2 separate regions of the Homo sapiens genome follow, and region 2 is linked to region 1. The links are contacts of gene promoters, found by promoter capture Hi-C in blood cells and fetal thymus (Javierre and others, 2016). All regions are on one chromosome and are shown on one strand. The core of a region is centred on a gene start or on the middle of the fragment in contact, and the rest is flanking DNA. Distances in the headings are between cores, read along the strand shown.

What was found. Contacts are between HindIII fragments. The CHiCAGO score rates a contact against its expected background, and 5 or more counts as called.
Region 2: a contact is called between a fragment that was not itself captured here and the fragment with the promoter of THAP5 in region 1, in 1 of 17 cell types (neutrophils). The highest score is 6.5, in neutrophils.

What each region holds. Positions count from the first base shown.
Region 1 is chr7:108,567,014-108,572,612 of GRCh38, reverse strand. THAP5 (THAP domain containing 5) reads left to right here and starts at 2,907. Exons shown (of 3, transcript NM_001130475.3): 1 at 2,907-3,123. The coding sequence starts at 3,044. It overlaps DNAJB9 (DnaJ heat shock protein family (Hsp40) member B9), which reads right to left and starts at 2,739. Exons shown (of 3, transcript NM_012328.3): 1 at 2,510-2,739; 2 at 670-896. The coding sequence starts at 886. RefSeq lists enhancers at 2,584-3,311, 2,845-3,324. The HindIII fragment of the contact is 6,219 bases long and covers 1-3,850 here.
Region 2 is chr7:98,257,145-98,263,177 of GRCh38, reverse strand. No RefSeq gene overlaps it. Among named protein-coding and RNA genes, the nearest start is that of TECPR1, 7.9 kb to the right of the region's middle. The HindIII fragment of the contact is 4,932 bases long and covers 1,940-6,033 here.

The sequences.
Region 1 (5,599 bases), core at 1,658-4,157:
AACAATCAGAGTTCTTTAATCTTCATATTATTCGTGTGAAATCATTAATTGTATTAAAAAATTAAACCATCAACTATAACCAATTAATAGGAATTAAGATTTTGCACCTCCTTACTAAAGTAAACTGTTTAATTCTAACTCCCTACTCAGTTACCTCCATCCAACAATAATTACTGAATGCTCAGCAGGTGCAATTTGTTTTAGAGCTAGTCTGAAGTCAAAATTTGTTCCAATTTTTTCTTTGAAGACAAATATGGCTTTGAAAAGCAGATCAAGTGAATAAAGCACTTTAGAGTCTAGTTTAATTTTTAAGTCTTTAATGTTTAAAATGTAAAATATTCTGTTTCATAAGTTAGTTGATAAGAATTTTGGGTACCTAAAATTCTTTTTTGTCATAGAAGCAACAGTGATCTTATAAATAATATAGAATAGATTTTCAATATTTTTAGATACGTATACCAATAAAATTATCTATTATTCTTTCATATATTTATTCAGGAATCAAAGCATCTGTGATAAGAAAATAATCTCAGAGAATCACCCAATATTTATACATAAATCCCACTCCACCTCCCATCTCCACAAAACCTTCAAATACAAACACTTCTTAGCTATCATTCTCCTTACTAGTTAATACCCATGACACTTCAGAGATTGTCATTTATTTACCTTCTGCAATCTCTCTGAATTTTGCTTCAGCATCCGGGCTCTTATTTTTGTCAGGGTGGTACTTCATGGCCAACTTGTGAAAGGCCTTCTTGATTTGGCGCTCTGATGCCGATTTTGGCACACCTAAGATATCATAGTAGCTTTTTGAGGCCAGAATTAATTCTGTTATCATTAAAATGCAGATTGCAAAGATGAAAATTGACTGGGGAGTAGCCATTTCTAATATCCTAAAACAGAAAAGAAAAAAAAATGTTATGGATGGAGCTAATCTTAAAACGTTTTTCTTTTAAAAGAAATCCAACACAAGGTAAACCTAATGCAGTATCAAAATAGTAAGCATACAGTATCTATTACCTGTCCACATGTAATTTCACTTTTAGTTTTATAACTCTCAAACTGGCTTAACCTTATTGAGAACAAAAATAATTCTTGGCTTTGTCTGTCTACTAATACTCTGGCCATACACAGAGGAGATAGAAAATTATCAATAACTGACTTTTAACCAGTTTATATTGAAGATTCATCATATGCAAGCATTGTAAGAAAAAAAAAGAAAACCAAATAATATAAGATCCCAACTTTCCTTTCAAGACTTCATATCCTGAAAGTAATAATGTATTTAACTTCACAGAAAAAAAAAACATTAAAAAAAAAAGGTGGCGCACCAAGGTAAATAGCCCAGTATATCTAAATTAGTATTATTAATCTCGCTCCAAAAATTCAGCTTTCATTTCAGCAGGTGAGCCAAGGACTGCAAATAGAGAATCTTAATATCACAATACTAATACTGACAATACAATAGAATGTTGTCTTTTTCCCAAATGTAAGATCCCAAATGTTTAACCAGGAAGCATGGCTAAATATTGTTTAAAACTCATGATGAACAGAATTTAAGATTTCTGCTAAAGCTGCCAGAAAAATGAACTTTGATAGTTTGTACTGTGGTTAAGGCAGATTCTTACTTTCACAAACTCAGTAGTTAAAATATTTCTTTTACCTTTAAACCATTAAAGAAATGTTAACTTAGAATTCTTGACAATATGTATTCAATGACTTGAGATTCAAAACGAAGGGATGGATCCTGTTTTTTGAATACGGGACCACCAGAGTCCTTAGTAACCTATAATGCCATAATAAGGCTGACGAAAAACACTACGGTTTGTGGAAATTGCCTGGCTTCCTCTCCAGCGGCCTTTCCTGAGAGTAATTAGCAGGCAGGTAGATTACTTATTTCCAGAGAGTTACTCGTAGTCACGGGTACCAAGAATCAAGAACCACTTCTCGGTTTAAGGAACACAACAGTGTGTCCCATGGACGCTGCGTCAACTGCAGGTTGCTCCCTAGTCAAAGGGCGGATCTAAAACTGACAGGGAGGCGCCTCACTGGTTCAGCAGACGTTATTCCACGGTCTCAAGGTGGACATCTAATGATTTTTTTTTAGCAGACTAGTTTTGTATTGTACAGACTTCTCATCCCCAAGACGGCCCCGCCAGCCAGCAGCCCGTGCCTTATTCCCCAGCCTCGGTGGGCGGCTGGGCTAGACCCTCCAACCTTCACCTAAAGGCGACTGGCACTTTCCCTGCCCGCCCAGGCCCCGCCGCAGAAGCTGCCCGAGACCCGGGCTCTAATCCGGCGCCCGTGAAAGCCGGCGCCACAACCCAAAACACGATTCTGTGATGCGGCTGTCTCCGTTCTTCCATTCTCTCGGCCAAAAACATGCAGCCCATTGTCCCTGCGGCGACCGTGGCGGACACCGAGGCCAAGTCAGCTCACAAAGACAGGCCTGGGCTACGGGGACCCTCCGAACTCCCCTCCCCACGACCCCGGCCTCGTCCCTCACCTGCACCCTCCGACTACTGCTGCTCCTCCACAGAGCTGAGGCGCTGGCGACCCTGACGATCGGCTCGGGTCGGCAGCTTGGGCCCGGCCCCTCACCGCGGCCTCCCGGAGCTGGCACGCACCCTAATCTCGGTCGTACACCGACCTAGCGCTCCTCCTTCCCCGCCGGCGCCCAGTCCCCTCTCAGCCAGCTCCTCACAGGCAGGAGGTAGCCGCTGGCGCCACCACCTCAGAAGACCTACACGAAACGCTTCCCCATTGGCTTCTGCCTCCCCACGTGATCCCGGCGCCCTACGCGCACGTGGAAAACTGTTGTTGCTGCTAGGGCTGTGCGCCACTTCCGGCTTCAACCCCCGAAAAGGCGGTGCTTAAACCGGAGGAGGCGGAAGTGAGTCGACAGACGAGGCGGCTTTCCCGGCAGAATGCTAGCGCAGGCGCAGGGGCTCGAGAGGCCTGGACCTGTGGCGCATCCTCAGTGAGGAGGGCCGCCCTGCATCCGTCGCCGGCCCCGGTCTCCAGGGGCCTCACCCGAGTCATGCCCCGCTATTGCGCAGCGATTTGTTGTAAGAACCGCCGGGGACGAAACAATAAAGACCGGAAGCTGAGTTTTTATCCGTAAGTTGTTTCTGGAGCAGAAGCGTCAGCCTCGCCGTGAGGCCTTGGACCTGTGGCCTTTGGGCTTGGGTGTCTCCTGTCCGCTCTGCCAGTGAGTCCTCAGCTCTCCGTACGTGGCCCGTCGCCCGCGGCAAGACGGAGGGAAGGCGCTAGTTCAGTTTAGCTAGCAATGCCCTTCTTGCGCGAGGACTGCTGGCTGGTGGCGAGGCCCAGGAGCCTGTTTGGGTGTTAACAGTTAAAACAGTAAAGTTTGCGCGGGCTTCTGTGGTTTTCAGTCTTTTCCCCACTTCACGTGATCTCATTTCATTGAACAACATTAACCACCATTTAAGATACGTGAAACCTGCGAAGTGGAAAGGTGCACGCAAAGTTAATTTACACCCCCCGCGAGGTAGGTCGCATAGGTATAATTTCATCCCACTTTTCTCCTGAGGAAACTGAGGCCCGGAATGATTAGGTAACCGACCTTGAAAGTTTAGTGTCAGAGCCAGAATTATAAACTAGTCTTCTGCTTAGGGCTGTAGATACTCTGCGGAGAACAAGGTTTTATTCTGTTACTCTGAATTACTAGAGCCACGATATATTTCCATCAAACTACTGAAGCACTGATTTTTATTCAGAAGTACAGACAAGCAGTGTCGTATAATAATTAGGGGTCCAGGCTTCAATGCTAGATCCTGGTTCCACTATTCTGTAGCTTAATGACCTCTTGGAAAGTATTTAAGCTTTGGTGTCTCACATATCTCATCTGTAACATGGAGATGTTAATAGTACTCACATGATTAATAACACATGAAAAGCAACATATTTAAAATACTGCATTTCCATTTTTTCTTGTATTTAAAAACAATTCATTTAGATCTAACCTGGTTCAGATTTTCAGCAGTTGTTTTGTGCTCATTTTACTTTAGACCTGAAGGACTTATTCATTAATGATTCGGCTGCTTTCCAGTATTTTAATTAATGGAAAAAAAATTGATAACCCCACCAGGCGCGGTGGCTCACGCCTGTAATCCCAGCACTTTGGGAGGCTGAGGCGGGCAGATCACCTGAGGTCGGCAGTCTGAGACCAGCCTGACCAACATGGAGAAACCCCGTCTGTACTAAAAATACAAAATTAGCTGCGCGTGGCGGCGCATGCCTGTGATCTCAGCTGCTCGGGAGGCTGAGGCAGGTGAATCGCTTGAACCTGGGAGGTGGAGGTTGAGGTGAGCCGAGATCACACCATTGCACCACAGCCTGAGCAACAAGAGCGAAACTCCGTCTCAAAAGAAAAAAAAACTGATAACCCCAAGTAATTCACAATCCATGGCAATATTTCCAGGATTGTCTCCCTTGAAGCCCAGCCTCAAGATGCAAAGAGATGTTTGGGGGAGGAAAACAATCTAATCCACTTTCAGTTTATAGGGAAATACTACTGTACTAATGGCTCTATCTCTGAGAATGTTTGTAGCAAAAGATCATGTTGAACTTGATTTAACCCCGTATTTCCCAGATTTATTTGGCCTTTGATATTGGAGATGGGGTATAACCCCACACTGAAATTTTTAACTAAACTTTGTGGACCTTACAGTAACTTTTTAGGAAGGAAAAAATAATGCAAGTGAATTGTAAAGATTTTTTTCACTGAAAATGTGAATTTAGTAAAAGTTGTATTATTTCTAGGGTTTTTAAAAAATTTTCTTGTGTAATCCACAAAATAAAAATTGAATTAGTTTTATTCTCCAGTAGCGTCAAACTTGAATTGAATTTGCTCATGTTAACACTACAGCAAACTGTAGTTTAAATGTATATGAATTTGGGAATTCAGTTAATATAGTGTCCAGTTTGTACTGTGATTATCTTATGCCTTTTGGGGAATTACATAAGACAATGAAACAAAATTATCAAATGAATTGAACCAATATAAAGACATAATTTATTCAGGAAACATGATCAAGATTTCTTAGAGATTTACCTATTGAAGCAATACAATCCAGTAAACAATAAGGATATTCACAAAGTTTTTTTTAATGAGTTGATAACTTAGCATATAGGTACAATGGAAATAATTTGCAAACAGCATCCATATACATGAATTTACAGTAAAAAGCATTATTGTAAAAGGCCTATTCTCATTTCAGTTGTAACAAAAGAAATGAATTTACCAATGGCCAGAAGAAGTCAGGTCCTCTAAAAGAAAATTTGTCTGCCTTTAAAATTCCTTTTCTGGTTATGCTTGTCATACTTACAACCTAATATTTGTAAAGTTAAAATATTTTTAAAACATGATTAATATTGCTTCTGTGGTTGGAATTTCCAAAGGTAGTTTATCTGATTTTTTTCCGTATGAGGATATCAGGATTAAAAGTTATATCTTACAGAGTACCCAGACTTTCCATGGCATCTTAAAAAGTTACCAGAATTTAGGGGGAAAAAATGATGCTACTACAAAACATAAGCTAAATGATTGGGATTGCGGGAAGGGAGTGTATAA
Region 2 (6,033 bases), core at 3,156-5,655, about 10 Mb after region 1:
GATGAGGAAGGTGAAGTGCCCAGAGAGGGTGTAAAGCTCCATGCACCACTGTCTCTCCATACCTTGCCCCATGAACCTCTTCCATCTAGTTGTTCCTGACTTGTAACCTTTATAAGAACCTGGTCGGCCGGACACGGTGGCTCATGCCTGTAATCCCAGCACTTTGGGAGGCCAAGGCGGGCGGATCACAAGGTCAGGAGTTCGAGACCAGCCTGGCCAATATGGTGAAACCCCGTCTCTACTAAAAATACAAAAATTAGCCGGGCATGGTGGTGGGCGCCTGAAGTCCCAGCTACTCGGGAGGCTGAGGCAGGAGAATCGCTTGAACTTGGGAGGCAGAGGTTACAGTGAGCCGAGATCACACCACCGCACTCTAGCCTGGGGGACAGAGTGAGACTCCATCTCAAAAAAAAAAAAAAAAAAAATGAACCTGGTGAACATAAGTGATGTTTCCCTAAATCATTCTAGCAAATTTTTAAACCCAAGGATGGGGTTGTGGTGTTAATCTGGTTTGGATGTTTGTCCCCTGCAAATCTCATGCTGAAACGTGGCCCCCGGTGTTGAAGGCATGGCCCAGTGGGAGGTGTCTGGGTCATGGGGACAGATCCCTCGTGAATGGCTTGGTACCACCCTCATGGTAATGAATCAGTTCTTGCTCTAATAGTTCATGCAAGATCTGGTTTTTTTCTTTTTTCTTTTTAGCAGAGTCTCACTCTGTCACCCAGGCCAAGAAGGGTGGATCACCTGAGGTCAGGAGTGTGAGATCAGCCTGGCCAATATGGTGAAACCCCATCTCTACTAAAAATACAAAAATTAGTTGGGTGTGGTGGCGCACACCTGTAATCCCAGCTACTCGGGAGGCTGAGGCAGGAGAATCACTTGAATCTGGGAGGCGGAGGTTGCAGTAAGCTGAGACTGTGCCACTGCACTCCAGCCTGGGCAACAAGAGCAAAAGTCCATCTCAATAAATAAATAAGTAAATAAATAAATGGGAAGCAGAGCATAACAATTTGGAAATTTGCAGCCTGGTCATGTGGTAGGTAGAGAAGGAAAGAACATTTTCGGAGGTGGAATTCAAGGAGCTTGTGGAGCAATCATTTGGTAGAGAGATTTACATAACTAAAAGGGAGCCAAGTGCTAAGAGTCAAGAGATGGAAAACAGGCCTGGAAGCCATTTTGGAAGTCTTCAGGACAGCCCCTCCCATCACAGGCCCAGAGGCTTAGGAGGAAAGCATGGCTTCAGGGGCCAGGGCCAGGGCCAGGGCTCCACTGTCCTGTGCAGCCTCAGGACACTGCTTCCTATATTTTGGCTCTCCAGCTCCAGCCGCAGGCCAAAGGTCCCAGATCTAACTGAACTGCTATTCCTAAAGGCACAATCTGTAAGACTTGGCAGCTTCCACGTGGTGTTAAACCTGCAGGTGCACACAATGCAAGAGTGAAGGAGGCTTAACAGCTTCCACCTAGATGTCACAGGATGTATCAGAAAGCCCAGGTGCCCAGGCAGAAGCCTGCAGCAGAGATGGAGCCCCTGCAGAGAGACTCTACTAGGGGAGTGCTGAGGGGAAATGTGGGGTTGGATCCCACACATAGAGGCCCCACTGGGGCACTGCCTAGTGCAGCTGTGGGAAGGGGACCACTACTCTCCAGACCAGACCCAAGAAAGGTAGATCCACCAGCTGCTGGCATCCTCAGCCTGGAAAAGCCACAGGCAGCAGACTCTAACCTGGGAGAACAGTCATGGGGGCTCTCCCTTGACATGGAGTAAAGGGAGATTTAGCTTTAAGGCTTAATGTCTGCCCTGCTGGGTTTCAGACTTGCCTGGAGCCTGTTACCTCTTTCTGTTGGCCAATTTCTCCCTTTTGGAATGGGAATGTTTACCCATTGCTGGTACCACCATTGTATATTGGAAGTAACCAACTTGTTTTTTATCTTATAAGCTTTTATCTTACAGAGATTCTTCTGCCTCAGCCTCCCGAGTAGCTGGGATTACAGGCACTTGCCACCATGCCTGGCTAATTTTTGCATTTTTAGTAAAGATGGGGTTTCACCATGTTGAACAGGCTGGTCTCAAACTCCTGACTTCAAGTGATCCACCCACCTGCCCAGGCCTCCCAAAGTACTGGGATTACAAGGTCTTGCTATATTGCCCAGGTTGCAATGGCTATTCACCAGCAGAGTCCCACTACTGATCCGCACCTGGCTACTCAGGTGGCTGAGGCAGGAAGATTGCTTGAGCCCAGGAGTTTGAGGCTGTCATGTGCAATGATCACACCTGCACTTTGGCTTGGGCAATATAGTGAGACTGTGTCTCTAAAAACAAAAAAAGAAAAGCATTTACTAAAGATAATCTCTCTACAAAATGTGATTTGAAATATGTACATAATGGCTGGGTGCTGTGGCTCATGCCTGTAATCCCAACACTTTGGGAGGCTGTGGCGGGTGGATCACTTGAGGTCAGGAGTTTGAGACCAGCCTGGCCAACATGGCAAAACTCCGTCTCTACTAAAAATACAAAAATTAGCCAGGCATGGTGGTGAGCACCTGTAATCCCAGCTACCGTAGAGGCTGAGGCACGAGAATCACTTGAGGCAGAGGTCACAATGAGACGAGATCACGCCATTGCACTCCAGCCTGGGCGACAGCGAGACTGTATCTCCAAAAAAAAAAAAAAGAAAAAAGAAAAATGTAGGTAAAACCAAATTAATAAGTGTTATAAATAGACATGTATTATTTTCATTCTCAAGAAGTTGAGCCAACATTTATAAAATTATTTGAAGGAGTTTTGACCTATTTCATTTCCAGCCTATGATGGTTCATCCTTCCTCAGCAACCCAAGAATTCTGACTAGCTGTGTGAACTTAGGCAAGTTACTTTCTCTTTCCATTGACAGATGGGGCTGATAACAGCTACTGGGTCTGCCCTTACATGTGCTGAGCTCCAAGGAAGGCTCCCTCAAATAATCATGAGATCGCGCCACTGCACTCCAGCCTGGCGACAGAGTGAGACTCCGTCTCAAAAAAAAAAAAAAAAAAGTTAGTGGCTGGGTGCGGTGCCTCACGCCTGTAATCCCAGCACTTTGGGAGGCCGAGGCCGGCAGATCACAAGGTCAGGAGTTTGAGACCAGTCTGGCTCACATGGTGAAACCCTGTCTCTATTAAAAATACAAAAATTATCAAGGCGTGGTTGTGTGCGCCTGTAATCTCAGCTACTCGGGAGGCTGAAGCAGGAGAATCGCTTGAAACTGGAAGGCGGAGTTTGCAGTGAGCCAAGATCAGGCCACCACGCTCCAGGCTGGGCAACGAGAGCAAAACTCCATCTCAAAAAAAAAAAACAAAAAAATTAGCCAGGCATGGTGGTGCAGACCTATACTCCCAGCTACTCAAGAGGCTGGGATTAACCAGGCATAGTGGTGCAGACCTATACTCGCAGCTCCTCAAGAGGCTGGGGGTGGAGGATTGCTTGAGCCCAGGAGGTTGAGGCTACTGTGAACTATGATTATGCCACTGCACTCCAGCCTGGGTGACAGAGCGAGACCCCATCACACACACACACACACACACACACAAATCGTGTGATGCTGTCACTTGATAAGTTATCCCATTCATGTAAAATTAGGTGATTTGCTCCACCTCCCAGGCTCAAGTGATCCTCCCACCTCAGCCTCCCAAGTAGCTGGGACTACAGGCCCGCACCACCATGCCCAGCTAATTTTGTATTTTTTAGTAGAGACAGGTTTCACTATGTTGGCCAGGCTGGACCATATGTGCTTTGTAAAACCCTTCCTTAATTGTAAAACATAAGACACAGAGAAAAGCATATCAGACATAAATCTTGTGAATTATTGTAAAGCAAAACCTGACACCACCAAGGTCAAGCATGAGAATCTTGCCGGCCACGGCCAACCCTCTGTGTTCCTTTCCTGCCCCAAAGGCATCCACATCCTGGTTGTTGTAACATTATGCTAATCACCTCCTTGTCTTTATACATTTTTTTTTTTTGAGATGGAGTCTCGCTCTGTCGCCCAGGCTGGAGGGCAGTGGCGCCATCTCAGCTTACAGCAACCTCTGCCCCCTGGGTTTAAGCGATTCTTCTGCCTCAGCCTCCCAAATAGCTGGGATTACAGGCGCACACCACCACTCCCAGCTAATTTTTTGTATTTTTAGTAGAGATGGGATTTCACCATGTTGGCCAGGCTGGTCTCGAACTCCTGACCTTTTGATCCACCCACCTCGGCCTCCCAAAGTGCTAGGATTACAAGGGTGAGCCACCGCGCCTGGCCGTCTTTATACTTTTACTACCAAACATACACTCTCAAACACTATAATAAAGTTCTTGGCTGTTTTTGAAATTCACATGTCAATGGGATCACATATATTCTTTTGTGTTTGGTTTTTCTCTCCTTGGTGTATGTTCAAGACTCATTCATGTTGTTGCATTTAGTTGTACTTCATTGTTTTGTTACCAATAATATTACACTGTATTAGGTTGGTGCCAAAGAAATTGTGGTTTTTGTCATTACTTTTACTTATTTATTTATTTTAGAGGAGTCTTACTCTGTCACCCAGGCTGGGGTGCAGTGGTGTGGTGCGATCTTGGCTCACTGCAACCTCACCCCACCGTTGGGGTTCAAGTGATTCTCCTGCCTCAGCCTCCTGAGTAGCTGGGATTACAGGCATGCGCCACCATGCCCAATTAATTTTTGCATTTTCAGTAGAGATGAGGTTTTGCCATGTTGGCCAGGCTGGTCTCGAACTCCTGACTTCAGGTGATCCACCTGCCTCGGCCTCCCAAAGTGCTAGGATTACAGGCGTGAGCTACTATGCCTGGCCTTTTTTCTTTTTTTCTTTTTTCTTTTTTTTTGAGACGGAGTCTCACTCTGTTGCCCAGGCTGGAGTGTAGTTGCATGATCTCATCTCACTGCAACCTCCACCTCCTGGGTTCAAGCAATTTTCCTGCCTCAGCCTCCTGAGTAGATGGGATTACAGGTGTGTGCCACCATGCCCAGCTAATTTTTGTATTTTGAGCAGAGAGTTTTGCCATTTTGGCCAGGCTGGTCTCAAACTCCTGACCTCAAGTGATCTGCCCACCTCGGCCTCCCAAAGCGTTGGGATAACTGGTGTGAGCCATCGCACCCACCCTGTCATTACTTTTAATGGCCAAAACCACAAGTCCTTTTGCAGCAACCTAATGTGACTCCATCACACTGATCATGCATTCCACTACAGATGGACACCTGGGGCTGTTGTTACATAGAGAATGCTGGTAAGGTGTGTACGTACAGCACCTAAATCACTGCTGGGCCACAGCACAATCTTAGCTTCAGCTCTATGAGGTCATGTCACTGATTTCCCCAGTGATGGCACCAGCTCGTACTTCTACTCCCTTAGCCTGTCTGGCAGGCAACTCATTGTGGGTTTAATTTGCATTTTCCTGCTTATCGCTGTAGTTGAGCACTTCTTCATAAGTTTATTGACCATTTGTTTCTTTTTCTTCTTTCTTCTTTTTTCTTTCTTTTTTTTTTTTTTTTTGAGACAGAGTCTTGCCTTGTCACCCAGGCTGGAGTGCAGTGGCGCGATATCGGCTCACTGCAACCTCCGCTTCCCGGGTTCAAGCGATTCTCCTGTCTCGCCCTACCGAGTAGCTGGGACTACAGGCGCGTGCCACCACGCCCAGCTGATTTTTTTTATTTTTAGTAGAGACAGGGTTTCACCGTGTTGGCCAGGATGGTCTCAATCTCCTGACCTCGTGATCTGCCTGCCTCGGCCTCCCAAACTGCTGGGATTACAGGAGTGAGCCACCATGCCCGGCCCTTCTTTTTTCTTTTGAGACAGGGTCTTGCTCCATCACCTAGGCTGCAGTGCAGTGGTGCAATCACAGGTCGCTGCAGCTTCGACCTCCTAGGCTTAAGCGATCCTCTTGCCTCAGCCTCCCTAGTAACTGGGACTACAGACACGCACTACCACATCTGGCTAATTAAAAAAATGTTTTGTAGGGATAGAGGCTCACTTTGATGCCCAGGCTGGTCTCAAACTC